Regions from separate parts of the Homo sapiens genome. Here region 2 is linked to region 1. Evidence: promoter capture Hi-C in 16 types of primary human blood cells and fetal thymus (Javierre and others, 2016). All regions are on one chromosome and are shown on one strand. The core of a region is centred on a gene start or on the middle of the fragment in contact, and the rest is flanking DNA. Distances in the headings are between cores, read along the strand shown. Region 1 holds the start of CHRM3-AS1 (CHRM3 antisense RNA 1). Region 2 has its middle 34 kb from the start of NID1.

Evidence for each region. Contacts are between HindIII fragments. The CHiCAGO score rates a contact against its expected background, and 5 or more counts as called.
Region 2: a fragment that was not itself captured here is called in contact with the fragment with the promoter of CHRM3-AS1 in region 1 in 1 of 17 cell types (total B cells); the score reaches 5.7 in total B cells.

The regions. Positions count from the first base shown.
Region 1 is chr1:239,898,095-239,902,557 of GRCh38, forward strand. CHRM3-AS1 (CHRM3 antisense RNA 1) reads right to left here and starts at 1,778. Exons shown (of 2, transcript NR_046582.1): 1 at 1,670-1,778; 2 at 1-298. The region is part of intron 6 of CHRM3 (cholinergic receptor muscarinic 3); the gene reads left to right. The HindIII fragment of the contact is 7,774 bases long and covers 94-4,463 here.
Region 2 is chr1:236,096,835-236,101,297 of GRCh38, forward strand. No RefSeq gene overlaps it. Among named protein-coding and RNA genes, the nearest start is that of NID1, 34 kb to the left of the region's middle. RefSeq lists enhancers at 1-969, 1-419, 395-689, 420-922. The HindIII fragment of the contact is 9,622 bases long and covers 1-4,463 here.

The sequences.
Region 1 (4,463 bases), core at 528-3,027:
TTAGGTAACATCTTTTCCCCCTTGCAGCTTCAAATGAATATCAAGAGCCAGGTTCACAAGTTGGATTCCCTTTAAAGACACGTTTGATTGCAAAGCTTTGTTGACTCTGTTTGATATCCTCCGCGAACTGCATGACTGAGCTAAGCTGAAGTTCCTGGTCACCAGCATGGGGAACGGGTAGCTGCTTCAGCGCCTGCTGGCAGAGAGGTCGTTCTCCGAGTCTGCTTTGCCACCTAGTGGTTTGATGTGGTATTGCCATTCACCAGGTAGTTTTAAAAGTCATTTTAGCCGTTGAATGCTATAGTGAATTATGACAGAAAACAGAGACACTCTAAGCAAAGAAGGCAGTCAGAGACCCAAAACAAGCCCTGAAAAATGACGCAGACTGGATTACAAATAGGGAAGAGGCACTAAATAGTTGGTCTGAGAAAAAACGCACGGCTGTATGTTGCAAAGATATTTTGGGTTTTTCCCATATCATCACTTAAAAAAATAATTATTATTATAGACGTAGAATTAATTTAGACTTCTAGAAAAATTTATACGCTTTTAATTGGTTCAGCAGGTTTAAAAATCGAGAGCCCTCAAACATTTTTCCCAAGTAGGTACTGCCCGGTTGGCTCAGAGGACATGAAATGAGTTTATCTCCTTGGAATTCATTATAACCAGAAGCCTCACATGTATATTGGCCTTGTCCGTTTCTGTAAGCAATCTCACATGTATTTCACACTGGATATTTACACATTTTTAAATTTTTTAAATTTACCTATATATTTCACAGACTTATAACCCCAGAAAAGTTATTTTTTGCCATAACTAGGGGGAAGAAGGCAAATTTCCTAGAACTAACCTTCAATTTCTCCTAAATTCAGTACTGTCAAACTTTTTTGTCTTTTTTCACATTTTTTGTTTCACCCTCTTCTTTTAAATATTAATAAAAGATGTCAAAATATCCACTGCAGTGGCTTTCCAACATTATTCAACACAAAATACATTGTACGTACATCATGACTATAGACATAATTTTATACGTGTGTGTATGTCGAGCAAAAATTTAATGAAGTGATATTGATTGTCATTATGTGGTATGCATTCTGATACGTCCTATTCAATTTGCTGTACATTTTTTTCTTTTTTAATTCTCATATTGGCCCACTAATTGGCTCTTGCATTTTGAACTCAGTGTGTGTGTGTGTGTGTGTGTGTGTGTGTGTATATACACACACGCATATATATCTATTGAATTTAGTGTGTGTGTATATATACATAAATACATATATACATATATAAACACATATACATATACACACATATACATATATACACACATATCTATACACATGTATGTATATGATATGTATATACATACGTATATATGTGTGTATATATACTCACACACATGTATATATACACACATACCAAGTTCAAAATGCAACAGCCAATTAGCGGACCAATTAGTGTGTGTGTGTAGTGTGTGTGTATATATATAGTAAGTTCAACATGCAATGTATATATACACTAAGTATATGTACATTGTATATAAGTAAGTATACTAAGTACATAGTATATATACACGATATAAGTACACTAAGTATATCGTATATATATACTAAGTATATATACATACACACAGATGTAACTTCCCCACAAAGGCACTGATGGTACCCACGTGCAGGATCTTGCGCAGTTTTCCACTTCTTGCCTGAGCTCTGGTGCCTGGAACACTTCAGTAACCATTCCCTGAATGTTGCACCCACAACCTGGCAGGGAGGGAGCCTGCTCTGACCCCAGAGAGGAGCCAGGCACCTGCCCCTGGTCTGCCCCTATCTGACCATGCCCTGAGCCCTCATGCAGGCTGCATTCCTAGAACTCTTGCCTGGGATTACTTATAAAGTGCGAAGGTCACTGGGCTGACAAGGATCTCTGTTCCCACCACCTGTTTATTCCTGAGCATTACAAGGAAAGACTTCCTGTAGGTCCCCTCACCAATATCATTCAATTCAATGAGTGTAGACTGTGAACTTCCTTGACTCAAAATATCCTAATGCTATGGAATAGCTGTTGAGTCAGGATGAGGAAGGAATATTAAACATAGGAATGATACCTTCTACTCAGAAAATCACCGTAAACTGAGGGCTCTTAGCCCGGGGTTATCACTGCTTCATTTGGGTCTGACCTACAGTCTTGATTCTCAGGAAGTTACATATTACCTATGAAATAATAGATATACCTGAAGTAAAACATTTGGTGACTCTCATTTCTAATAAGTACTTTTAGATATTCTTTTTTTTTTTTTTTTTTGAAATCCTTATGACCGGCTGATCACTTTCTCCTGTTGTCATCCTGGGTACCGATAGGACCTCCGTTGCTGAGCCTCCAGAGAACAGTCCTTTTAATGAGGCCGTGGCCCCAAGGCCTCGGAGAAGTTCATAGAAAATGTCTGAAAGAAGGTGGGAGGGATCTTGTTTCCTGGCCCTATAGGGACATTGTCTTCCTTGATAAAGCTGGGTACAGCCTTGATATGAATAGATTGGGGAGCACCAGGAATGTACCTCACCTGGGCTGTCGAGAAAAGACAGTGTGCTCAGAAGAGGTATGGCAGGTGCTGAATATTCCCTTGGAGGGACGAAGGCAAGAAAGGCCCCTACAGCAATGAGGGGAGAAAATCCACAACCCAAGTAGAACTAGGATTTCTTATGTGTGAGACAATACATTGCTCATTTACATGTAAAGTGTGTATAATATTTTTAATCCATCGTATTCAGGCGAGCAAGATCAGTCATTTCATTTTTGTATAACTTGCCTCGAAGCTGCCTGTTGTGGCCCCATTCTGCATAGCAAATCACCACAAACTTAGCAGCTTACAACAAGGTTCCCTGTTCAGGGTCTCAACACTGAAATCAAGGTGTTCGCCCAGCTGAGTTTACGTCTTAGGCAAGACTAAGGAAGAATTCATTACCACAGGCATTCAGGTCATCGGTGCTTCTGCCATGGTGACCTAGTGACCTCTGAGCAGCTGCCACCTCTGGGCACCAGACAGGAGGGCATGAGGCACGCATCTTCTTTGAGTCTGATCAATATTATCAGATGCGACCTCTTTTTCCTCCAACCTTCTCCGCATTTAAAAGCAACAGCAGAGTGTAAGGCAAGATTCCAAGCCCTCCTTGGCAACCATCACCAATATCTGCCCCCTTTTAACTCTCTTCTTCACTTCCTTCTGGCTTCGGAAACTTTGGGATTTTTTTTTTTTTCCTCATTCGGGACATTACAGATTGAGCTGAAGTCTTCTTTGTCCATCACCCTCAATCCTAATTTTATCTTCCTCCTCCAAAATACCACTGCTAATATATGATTTGCATGTAAATCTTTCTATCCTTCTATGACAATTTTAATTATATTAATATACTAAAGGTGGTATCTGTCTATATGTCTGTATACAACCTTTAGTATACAGGCATGTACAATCTTTAGTATACTATTGCTGTGTTTTATTGTAAACTAAATTTTATCGTGTTGTATTTGTCATCCCACAACTTGCCTTTCTTACTTAACAAAGTATTTTTAGATGGTTCTAAGTTAATATATATCTAGTTGATTGCTTTTATCTGCTGCATAGTATTCCCTTTTATGAATGACCTCATTTTTGAATTCATTTCAAAACGAATGGTCTTATAGATTTTCCTCATTTTTGTCATAAAAATAAATGCTTCAGTTAATAGCCTTGGGCGTGTCTCCTTGTGTACATACGAATGCAATAATTTCTAGAGGGTAGATACCTAGCAGTTGGATTGCTAGTTCATGGTGTACATGCCTTTTCAGTTTTAATTAATACTTCCAAATCACCTTTTTGTAGTACTTATTATCAATTTATTCACTCTGGATGTGGCAAGGGGAGATTTTTCTTATTTTCCTAGTGTGTAGGTCAGTATACCATGCATTGATGCTCAGAAGACCAAGTGTTTGCAGTTTCAAAGCCCTTATCTTTAAATCCCTTCTCTCTACCAGAGTATTTAAAATCTACTTTAAAAAGCAAAAAATGAGGAAACACTGGTTTCTTTCTCCCTGTGTTTCTAAAGTAACAACACAACCCTGAGAACACAAAAAGTTAGCATTGGGAGAAGGGAGGCAAGATCCCCGTTAATACTTCAGAGTATTAGCCTACAACACCACAATGCTTCTTATCTTCTCCATAATCTACAGATCAGGCGATAGTATTCTAGTTTTATAGATGAAGAAAGGTCGTCTCAAAATAGTCAAGTAATTTGGTAAGTTTATACATCTCCTGGGCCAACCCAGAACTCAGACCCAAATCAGCAAAACTCCAAAGAAAGACCACAGCTTTTCAACTCTGCTCTATTGCTTTCTAATAAAAAAAATTAATGACGATGAGAACATCATCTTTATTAATAGAGTGGTATTAATGTATCTCATCACATCAGAACCCCAAATGAGTACCCACGACT
Region 2 (4,463 bases), core at 1,265-3,764, 3.8 Mb before region 1:
CAATTTTACTTCTCTAGAAGGGTGCGACTCGCAGATGGAGCAATGGCCAGAGCACACCTGAACAAGGGAGGGGAAGGGGTTCTGATTCCTGACACAGGTAGCCCCTACTGATGCGTCGTTCCCGTATTGGCTAGGGTTGGACTGCACAGTCTAAGCTAATTCCGATTGGCTACTTTAAAGAGAGCAGGGGTATGAGCCAGAGTGGCGGGGTGAGTAGTTTGGTGGGAAGGGTGGTTACAGAACAGGTGACTCAGGATGATTCAGGTCAGAGCAGGTGACCAGGGGTGACTCAGAATGGAGCAGGTGGCCAGGGGTGACTCAGAATGGAGCAGGCGGCCAGGGGTGACTCAGAATGGAGCAGGCGGCCAGGGGTGACTCAGAATGGAGCAGGCGGCCAGGGGTGACTCAGAATGGAGCAGGCGGCCAGGGGTGACTCAGAATGGAGCAGGTGGCCAGGGGTGACTCAGAATGGAGCAGGTGGCCAGGGGTGACTCAGAATGGAGCAGGCGACCAGGGGTGACTCAGAATGGAGCAGGTGACCAGGGGTGACTCAGAATGGAGCAGGTGACCAGGGGAATAGACGTTAACTACTGATTAGAACTGTTGGAAAAGGTTGTTTAGTGAAACTAGGGCTGAGGAGAACGAGGAAGTTCAACTTTAAAATGGAGAACAAAGAACTGAACATACTGACATACTGATTCTTTGAAGAGAAATTTAGAACTCACTGTATTCAACAAATTATTATTTTTGCTTTTAAGTGTCTGTGGAATTCACCGGTGATCCACCTGCCTCAGCCTCCCAAAGTGCTGGGATTACAGGCGTGAGCCATTGTGCCCGGCCAAGAACAGCCTTCCATTTCTACCTTGCCTGTAGCCTCCCAAACCAAAATACGGGTCTCAACACCTGGTCCTTGATCTCCTTGACTCCCGTTGGACCCAAGAAGTATGGCTTCTCTCCCCTTTCCTCTGGTGGATGGCCCTGGACACAACCCACCTCACACTAACAGAGACAGAGGGGTGGTCCAAGGGAAGTGAGTGAGAAGTTACCTGCAGAAGAGGGAACTTTTGAGAGAAGGAACCAGGTAGCTGTGAGGCCCTTGAAAACAGAAGGCTGTCAAGGCAGATTTGAAGGGAGAATATATGTGAATTAGCAAGTGCAGGAGATAGAGAGAGCACTAACTATTAGAAAGAAATGAAAATAGGGCCAGGCGCGGTGGCTCACACTTGTAATCCCAGCACTTTGGGAGGCTGAGGCAAGTGTATCACTTGAGGTCAGGAGTTCGAGTCCAGCCTGGCCAACATGGCGAAACCTCCCCACCATGTCTACTAAAAATACAAAAATTAGCTGGGTGTGATGGTGTGCACATGTAATCCCAACTACTTGGGAGGCTGAGGCAGGAGAATCTCTTGAACCTGGGAGGCGGAGGCTGCAGTGAGTCAAGATTGTGCCACTGCACTCCAGCCTGGGCGAAAGAATGAGACTCCATCAGAAAGGAAGAAAGGAAGGGAAGGGGAAAAGAAGGGAAGGGAAGGGAAGGGAAGGGAAGGGAAGGAAGGAAAGGAAGGGAAGGAAGGAAGGGAAAGGAAGAAAGGAAGGGAAGGGAAAAGAAGGGAAGGGAAGGAAGGAAAGGAAGGGAAGGAAGGAAGGGAAGGGAAGGAAGGAAGGAAGGAAAGGAAGGGAAGGAAGGAAAGGAAGGGAAGGAGGGAAGGGAAGGAAGGAAGGAAGAAAGGAAGGAGAAACTAGGAATAGGGAGAGGATAAAGAAATTTTAGTTTTTGAAAAAGCTGTGTTAAGCTAATCAAGTCACATGAGATCATGCAGAGATGTGGCTACCATAGTATCTAAAGAAAAGGACTCTGAGGCAGGCAGCCTGCCTGGGTTCAAATCCTGCCTCCCCCACTTATTCACTGTGCAATCTTGGGCAAGTTACCTAACCTCTGCCTCAGTTTCCTCATTTGTGATGGTTGTTGTAAGGATCAAGTTATTGCACGTAAAGTACTTAAAACAACTCCTGGCCCATTAAGCACAAGAGACCTGTGTTTTGTTCTTGTACTATCTTCCTCTTCATCATTATGTACCTATAAATTAACTAACCTGGATGTTACTGGCATTTCAAGATTTCCTTGCACAGTGCTAAAAGTCACTGTTCAAATTGTGCTCACAATCTGTGCACTCTTATCAGAATATGGGCAAGAAGTTGGACAGAGTTGCCCTACTAGAGAAAGTGGGTATATAGAGAGCATCTTTTACATATTTGCATTGGGGCTGTCTTTCATCACAATGGGAGCAGAATTTGACAGGCAGTAGGGTGGATGAGGTGCAGCTCCACACTAACCAGCTGAGCCATGTGAGCAAATATTGAGCACATCAACCCCATTCATCATCAGGCTTTTTTTTTTTTTTTTTTTTGAGACAGAGTCTCACTCTATTGTCCAGGCTGGAGTGCAGTGGCACTATCTCAGCTCACTGCAGCTTCTACTTCCTGCTTTCAAGTGATTCTCGTGCCTCAGCCTCTCAAGTAGCTGGGAATACAGGTGCACACCACCATGCCCGGCTAATGTTTTTGTATTTTCAGTAGAGACAGGGTTTCATCATGTTGGACAGGCTGGTCTTGAACTCCTGACCTCTGGTGATCCACCCGCCTTGGCCTCCTAAAGTGCTGGGATTACAGGCATGAGCCACCGAGCCCAGCCATCAGGCTCCCTCTAACACGTGTTTACATTTAATCATTCGATTTGCATAAATCTAGCTTCTTGCCTGCCCTAGACATGTGTGGCTTTGTTGCAAAGCTAGACATGCTTTAAAATTAATTTGAAATGCATGTAACTTTTGCTATCCCAAAGATGGTAATATAGCTGCATAGCATTCCTAGAGACCTCCAACACTTCCTTCCTTCCCGAACAGAGCATTTAACTCTCTTCTCAAACTACCGACTGTCTGGGGCGGTGTGCCATGATGCCCCGGGGGAAGCTCCGTGGATCTGGAAGGCAACTCGGGACATCTGGTCTGGCCAGCCCACCCACGTAATGCATTCAGCAGACCTGCCCCCTACACAGAGGGCTGAGCCTCTGAGCTCCCACAGGCTCTACCTTATAAGCAAAGACTGAAGAGTCTTTGTTCATAAGGAAGAGAGAAGAAAGAAAAGAAGCAATTAAACAGAATTGCAGGAGCTCCTAGAGTCTGTCAGTTTCTTCAGAGCCACGCCAGGGTCTCACCTATCTTTGTAGGCTGCTCAGTAGAAGTGAGGCACCCAGTGGGTGCTGGCTGAGGTCTCCTCTCCCTCGGCAGGGTCCCTTCTGATGGCCTCCCTCCTCCATCTGCAACAATCCCCCGCACCCCTGTGGGCTTCCTTCTTCCCACCACCTCTGCATGCTGGGCCCTCTGGGTTCTGTCTTCTTCCTATTGGAAGCTCCCTTTCCAAATGACCTCCTGTCCTCTGCTGGCCCAGACCTCCCCTTATGTGCTGTGAATCCCCCATCTCCAACTCCAGCCCAGTCTCTCTTCTCAACATGCAGTGGCCGCTTCCATCCATGTCCCCCAGGCATCCTAAATTCAGCACTTCCAAAACTGGAATTCACAGGTTTCCCAAATGCACTTGCACGCCTGGGTTCCTCATCCAGCCCAAGACACCACCTTTCCCCGACTCGCTCTGTCTAAAACCCGAGTCTTCTTCGACTTCCTTCCCTCTTTCCCTCGTGCCTAACGATAGTAATAGTATTGCTCATATGCATTGAGTACATCCAGTGTGCTAGACAGCATACGAATCCCCAGCAGTTTCCTTTGATACACCTACTACATGAGGCAGGTACTATTATCAACAGCATTTTATGGATGAGGAAGTGGGGTGCAGAGAGCTGGCTCGAGGGGGCAGAGCTGGTGGAGAGCTGGACTGAGACTGGGATCTGTTTGATTCCAGAGCTTGAGCCTTTTGCACCACTCTGCTCCATCTTTGACCGCCACACACCCTAAAAACAAAACAAAACCCAAAACACTCCACCACTGAACAATTTTGGTGACCACCGTCCCACCTCTGGGAGGGCTGGGAGTCCCCAGAAAACACAGAAGTAGCTCCCAGGCCCGTAATTCACCCCAACATTTTTGGTTCTAGAAACCTGGCAAAGCAGCCACATTGGCCCAAGCCAGCGACACCGCGCGGCCCCGCGCTTCCCACAGCCCTGGGCCCGGCAAGGCTGAAATCAAGTCTAGAAGATGGCAAGGTGGGAAGGAACGCTCCTCTTTCATCTTGCTTCAGAGAAAACCTTCGCCAGTCTCAGCATCATCAGTACACACGTGGCCTGCTCTTCAGCGGATCTCACCAGTAACACCTTCTGGCATTTGGGCTAGAGACCGGGCCCCTGAGGCCGCCCTGGGAAGCCTGAGGTGTGGAGGGGGATTCAGGATGTGCCTCTGTTCCTGTATGTGCAAGTGTGAGTATGAGTGTGTGTGTGAATGTGGAGGTGGGTG